2 separate regions of the Homo sapiens genome follow, and region 1 is linked to region 2. Evidence: promoter capture Hi-C in human tissues and cell types (Jung and others, 2019). All regions are on one chromosome and are shown on one strand. The core of a region is centred on a gene start or on the middle of the fragment in contact, and the rest is flanking DNA. Distances in the headings are between cores, read along the strand shown. Region 1 has its middle 19 kb from the start of SH3RF2. Region 2 holds the start of GRXCR2 (glutaredoxin and cysteine rich domain containing 2).

Region 1 (3,530 bases), core at 849-3,348, 45 kb after region 2:
TAGAAGGCTGTGTGTCTTTGGACATTTCCTTGTGCCTCAGTTTTTCTCATCTGCACAGTGGGTTCACCTCTAAGAGTCAGCTCATGGGTACCAAATGAGATAACCTATTCAGAGCTTTCAGCACGGGCCTGGAACAGAATTAATGCATGGTAAATATTAGCTCAAATGCACAACTGGTCAACAATGCAGGGTACCCATGCACACCCAGCTGACACAGAGTCACCATGCGGGGAGGGAAGAAAAGAAAGACAAGCTTATTCATGGGGAAGCAGATGATGCTCTGCAGAGAATTCAAAGAGCTGTGCATGGTTGTGTGGGAGGCGAGGAGGTGGAGGAAGCGGGGGGCGCTGCTCAGAGCCCCTGCTTCTGCTGGGGCAGAAATCATGTGTGACGAGAAAGAAAAAGAAAAGAAGGGAAGTGACAAACTGACTGTACGTGTGTCTGTCATCGTGGATGAGCAATAAAGATGATAAGAATCCTCAAGACAAGGCTGCATCATTAGATGAGGAATAAAAAAGCTTATTATTAGGGGAAATTGATGCTCTGTGGAACCAGAGCTTTTAGAACAAAGAGCATCAAACTGACATTTTTCCAGGCTGGGGAAGTGTTATTTCATTCATGATCAGTTACAGGCATTAGGATCTGTTGCTTTCTTTTGTTTTATTGTTCTGTTGCCCCATTTTCTCCACCAGGCCCCAGGCTGAACCCTGAGGGGAGTCTATGAAAAAGCTCTTGAAGGAAGGCATTGGGAAGGGAAAGTCCTCCTTGTCACAGAGGGCAATTTGTATTTTGAAGAGTTTCATTTGAATTGCCTAGAAAATACTTCAGAGACAGATCTATATAATCTCATCATAAATTCAACCTTATACTTTTCAAAGGAGGCAAAGAAGGATATAGACATAGCTATCAGGCCTGGGTTCAAACAAGGTTCAAATTAAGGTGACTTCCTATATTAACTTGAGGAAATCACTGAACCCTCAAAACCTTAGTCTCTCAATCTGTAAAGTAAAATTGAGATTATGACCAACCTTAGAGGGTCATTGTGAGATAGGGAACAAGCATGAATGGTGGTCTAGAGCAAGCCCTTGACCACTGTCATCACCTTTTTTGTCATTGTCATTGTTGTCACACAGCTAAGAGGTTATAGGAGCAAGCGTGGAAACTAACTTAAAATCAAGAAGCTCCCTGACTTAAAATCATAGCCACATACAGAAAACATACAAATCATGCATTTCAACCCTAATAACAATGGGAGCCATTGCCAGATTTATTTCCTAAGCATCTTTTTTTTTTTTTTTGAAAAGCAGTTATTTCCAGGGTGGGAAACCTCCAGAATCCACATCTCCTTTTAAGATACAAAACAGCATTATGTCAAGATGGACACGTTCTCCACAGTATTTGCCTGTTACTCCCACTCGCCCCCCGAGATTAATTTGCAAGTCTTCTTTCTTCCCCAAAGTGGATTCCAAAGGCACACACGGCTCAGAAAGGAAAGCAATTCTTGTTCTTCTTTCTCAGGCTTTCCTGTGTTTTAGACCCAAATATATGAACTTTCATGTTCTGGTCTCCCCACAGTTGGAGATCAGTGTAAGGACATTTCAGAAATAGAAGAGGTGTGAGAATGAGAGTAAGTGTGCAGAATATAGACAAGGACCATGATCCAAAAAAAGAAAACACACCCTCCCACTCACTGAATCATTCTGTAAACACCATCAGAATGTCTGCTGAGTGCCAGGTCCTGTGCTCAGTGCTGGACAACAAGGAGAAGAGAATGCAGACCTTCATCTAGAAGTTCACAGCCTGGAAGACAGTGAGGAATGACCCCAGAGGTGTGGAGCAGGGAGCAGCACCTGTCACATCCTCAAGATTGTCCCACTGACAGCTTCTAATGAGATTATTAGGTTCAGGTGCCATGGACTAGCCTCAAGAGTAGGTGGTGAACATCCAGGAATAACCCAAATACCTCCCCACCACTCACCTGTCTCCATGGCTGAACTCTGTTTTGTTTTGTTCTGTTTTGAGATGGAGTCTCACTTTGTCACCAGGCTGGAGGGCAGTAGTGCAATCTTGGCTCACTGCAACCTCCGCCTCCTGGGTTCAAGTGATTCTCCTGCCTCAGCCTCCCAAGTAGCTGGGACTACAGGTGCCCACCACCATGCACAGCTAATTTTTGTATTTCTAGTAGAGACGGGGCTTCACCATGTTGGCCAGGATGGTCTTGATCTCCTGACCTCGTGATCTGCCCACCTCGGCCTCCCAAAGTGGTGGGATTATAGGCGTGAGCCACTGTGCTCGGCCGGCTGAACTCATTAGTCCTCATTACTTCAGAAGAAGGGAATGCCAGTTCCCGTGATTGCCACTTTTCAGTTGAATGCTGGTATTCCTAGAAGACCTCGTTATTAGCCATGACAAACTCCCTTTCCCTAACTCCTTTAACAGAACTTTACAACTTACAAAACATTTTCATGTTTATGATCTGGTAGTAGGGCAGGCAATTTCATTCCCACTTTACGGAGGAGGAAGCTAAATAATTAGCCTGTGGTCTCACAGCTCAAAGGCAAAATAGCTGGGAGGTGAACGGGGTCTGTTGACTCCAAGTCTACAGCTCAGCAAAGCCAGCCAAAGATCATTGCTATCCCCTAGTAACTTAGACGTAAGTTACTCTTTCCTCTTAAAAGTAAATATTTTGTAGTTCCACAGAAGGAAGGACTGAGAGTTCTCACAACCTTCGATACTCACAGCAGAGACTGCCCAGTCCTGTGGGCATGGGGAAAGGTCAAAGTGTCCAGGAAAAGCTGGTAATTATGACCAGTTCCTGGGTGCTTCCCATATGCCCAGCACTGTGCTGCAAGCAGGCTTCAGCTGTGTCACCTGAATGTCCCTGACTTCACCTGCTCCCACCTGTGTAACTGTAGTCCCTCCCACCCCATTACTTAGGGATTTCCCCCCATCTAGAGGAAGAAGCTCAGGAACAAGCCCCCTCATGCTCTCCATTAATATTTACTGCCCATTTACAAGTCCTTATGGGAATTACCTTGGCATCCCTGTGATACAATGGCCTCCATTAAAACACTACCTTCGTGCCTGGGACCTCACACCCTGGAAAAGCCAAACAGACTTGGTTCCCTTCTGTGCTTAGTGCATGCCTAGTGCTGTGTGTGAGCCCCTCCCCAAATGCTGCATTGTATTTTGTCCACTTGGACTCTGAGCTACTAAGTTTCCCGCATCACCTGGGGAGAACAGATCCTCCAGTTTACGGCTTCTGCTTCACAGGGACTGAGCATCTGTTCTTGCGGTCAAGTCGGGGCAGACTCCTCATTAGAGCTTGCACTGTCCCTGTCTCCTCATTTCTTCCCCCAGGTCCCACTCCAAATCCTCCTCCTTTCTCCTTCAGTCCAAAGTCACATAGACAAATCAGGGAAAGTGGAGAATCTGGACCCCCAAAACCAACCGAACATTGCTGGATAATTCTGGAAAAGTGACAGCCCTGGGAGGGCATGCAGAAGAGGATCCCAATGAGGAACTCTTAA
Region 2 (3,341 bases), core at 497-2,996:
GACCTAATAAGCACTCAACAAATGGTAGCTATTATTATTATGTAATAATATGGTTCTCTAAAAAAAGGAACATGCCCTAAAGCAAAACATTTGTAGCATCAGAAGATCTGGATTCTTATTCTGACTCTGTACCCAATGACCCTGTAGTATCAGATGGATCCCTTAACAACTTGGCACTCAATTTTTCTCTTCTGCAAAATGGGAATGACCATACTTTGGCCTTTCTCCCCAAGGTTATAGTAAAGACCCAATGCCATAGATATAGACAGAGATAGTACATGATGACACTTTGTACTGCATACGTCACCCCATTAAGATAAGAGGTCATTCATTTCAGCCCCTTTTAATATCAAAAACAAGCCTAGTGTTATCTTCGGTAATTGTGAACATGCCCATAATTATACTTTTACCAATGCCAGTAAAGCCAGTAATACATTTGTCTGCAATAGATGTGTTATCTATTCCCTTAGGAAACTAACAATAAAAATAATTCAAGAGTAATTATCTGGCTTTCACACTTTAAAGATGAGAACACATCCTGGTGTGCTATTCATTAATAACGTGGATACATTATATAATTGTATTTTATCTTTTTTAAGAAGTCATTCATGGTCCCACTGACAGCATATATACATCTCCTATGAATTTTTGGATACCAGTGTATGTTTTCCAGGTTCTACCTTAAAAGAAAATCATGTATGGACTTTTGATTATCCATGGTACTGGGAAGTAATTGAAATTCATAGATTAAACACATTCTTCAATCGAACCATTAGCTCAAACTTCTTCCTCACATAACATATCCTCTGGCTGATTTGCGTTTCACCATCCCTTCCCAGGACTCCAACTACCCAGAGCTTATGCTAAGGAGCAATGGAAAGGAAAAATAAATAGACAAAGCAGGCAGTATGAGGAAGGCAATAGGGGTAAAAAACAAGACATGGATAAACTGCAAGCTGAGTAATTGGCTGGAGTAAAATGAGCACTTTCAAATACTCAGCTCTTTCAGGAAACAAAATGACTGCATAATTGTCTAAAACCGCAGTCTGACAACCTGAAAACCACTGCACCTCTATTTAATTTACATTCCAGGAAAACTCAGTCAAAGATCCAATTACAATGTATTACCTTGGATGGAATTTGAATACTATATATGCTCATTGCACTTTCCAATTAGTAGTCAACAAGCATGTTATTTTTACCCCAGAAATATTCGTCTAATAACAACTTCCCATTTGGTGCACCAACAGTTCTGGTTGGTACCGGAGGGGGAGCAAGACACAAATCTGAACCATTTAGGAGTTTCTCTAAACACGTTTTAGGAAGCCCTACCCTTAAAGCCTATATGCCATGCACAATACCAACCTTATGGTCATTCGCCTTGTAATCGTTGAACCGAGGCTGGCCGCCTGCCAAGGTGTAGGCATTACCCTCTCTAAACACACTGATCCTCTGAGCAGTCAGCTTAGGGGAGCACATCTGGGGCCTGGGGACTTCCCCAGACCCATAAACACCATCCATTGTTTCAAGAGACTCTTGCAGAAAACTGTGAGGGTATTCCTCCTTTGGTGACTCTAATTCCTGCCCATCCTCAAAGACCTGCTTCAATACTCGACCGCTGTAGGAGGAGGAGATTTTAAATCGTACTTTCCGGGGTTTGCCATCACTCTTCTGATTCAGCTTTTTCTCAGGGTCCTCCATCAGCAGAAAGTTGACCCTGTGGTCTCCAGCCTTCCGTGCAGCCGGTGAAACTTGGGCCTCTGAGAAAAAGGCATTTTATTTTCTCTCCTCCTGCATATAATTAATTCAAGTTGTTGCTGGGGTATGGTCAGTTTACAGCAACTGACACCCATACATTAAATATTGATAGACCCTCATGAAAAGGCAGGTGATTCTGGTTTGATGGAGTGGATGGAATATAAGACAAGATTGATTCTTCTCATAATCCCAAGCTCACCATGACTTCACCCCAACCCTAACCTTTCTTAACCTGAGGATGAAGAAGTTTATTTAGACTGAACATGTGCCAATTCAATAAGGATCAGACACTCAATTAGTTAACAAGTGTCTTCTTATTGTTAGCAATGACAATTAAAATCTAGTGAGCATTTCATAAGTACCAGAGATTGTTACATGCATTATTTTATTTCATCCTCACGATAACCCTACAAAGAAAATCTTACCTTTGTTTTACACAGGGGAAAGTGAGGCTTAGAGCCACTTGTCATTTATCTTCATCATTTGTCTGCTCTATTACACCTAAGTAAGTGACAGAGCAGGGATTTGAACCCAGATCTATCTGACTCCAAAACCCAAGATCAGCCCACACAACCAGAAGTTTTCCAGTTCTGGTTCTAGAAGAGGGAATGACGTCCTAGATACAGTGGAGGTTCTTGGAGGCTGCTGCTAAGAACAGGAGAAGGCCGAGGGTCCTGGATTCTGGGCCTTCTCCCCCTACGCTAACCAGAGCACCTCCACTTGGTATGTATTTTACATTTAAGATTTCATTTGCAATCACAGCACAAGTCCCCATTGCCTGTTGGACTTCGTAAATGCCTGACACTGAACTAGTGGCTGGAGTGAATAGCACAGAAGCATGTGACCTGGGCCTGAGAACAGTCCTACAATCCCATACAGACCTCACACAGGTGAAATAATAACCTCATGCTTAGAGAGCAAACTGCCCACAGCTGAATCCCAGAATAGCCACTCTGGGAAGGAAGTGGTCTCTAAGGAGACAAGGATGGAAGAAGGTTTGTAAAGAAAAGGGCCCTTGGGCTGGGTAGAAAATGGTAGGTTGGATGTGAGGAGCTGAAAGTGGAGTAAAGCCTTTCTCCCTGTCTTTGCTACCAGCATCACCATTTACTGAGTTACCCAAATTGACCCCTCCTATTCCCCTACAGCCATTCGCTTGGATTCTTTTTTTTTATTATTTTATTTTATTTTTTTTTTTTTGAGACGGAGTCTCACTCTGTTGCCAGGCTGGAGTGCAGTGGTACGATCTCGGCTCACTGCAACCTCCACCTCCTGAGTTCGAGCAATTCTCATGCCTCAGCCTCCCGAGTAGCTGGGACTACAGGCACACGCCACCATGCCCAGCTAATTTTTGTATTTTTAGTAGAGATGGAGTTTCACCATGTTGGCCAGGATGGTCTCAATCTCTTGACCTCGTGATCCGCCTGCCTTGACCTCCCAAAGTGCTGGGACTACAGGCATGAGCCACCGCACCCAGCCCATTCACATGGATTCTTTCACCACTGCCTTCTTTCATCTACCCCTATCACCCTGGCCCTAGGGCAAACCCTCATCACTTTGATTTTTAAAGTTGCAGCTGTCTCCCA

What was found. The method cuts DNA at HindIII sites, captures the fragments that hold promoters and counts their contacts. A contact is called where the count stands out against the background at its distance.
Region 1: a fragment that was not itself captured here is called in contact with the fragment with the promoter of GRXCR2 in region 2 in 5 of the 25 tissues and cell types used here (adrenal gland, mesenchymal stem cells, psoas muscle and 2 more).

The regions. Positions count from the first base shown.
Region 1 is chr5:145,915,780-145,919,309 of GRCh38, forward strand. It overlaps a transcript of GRXCR2 not described here. Among named protein-coding and RNA genes, the nearest start is that of SH3RF2, 19 kb to the right of the region's middle. The HindIII fragment of the contact is 6,073 bases long and covers 1-3,530 here.
Region 2 is chr5:145,871,268-145,874,608 of GRCh38, forward strand. GRXCR2 (glutaredoxin and cysteine rich domain containing 2) reads right to left here and starts at 1,747. Exons shown (of 3, transcript NM_001080516.2): 1 at 1,366-1,747. The coding sequence starts at 1,701. The HindIII fragment of the contact is 8,071 bases long and covers 1-3,341 here.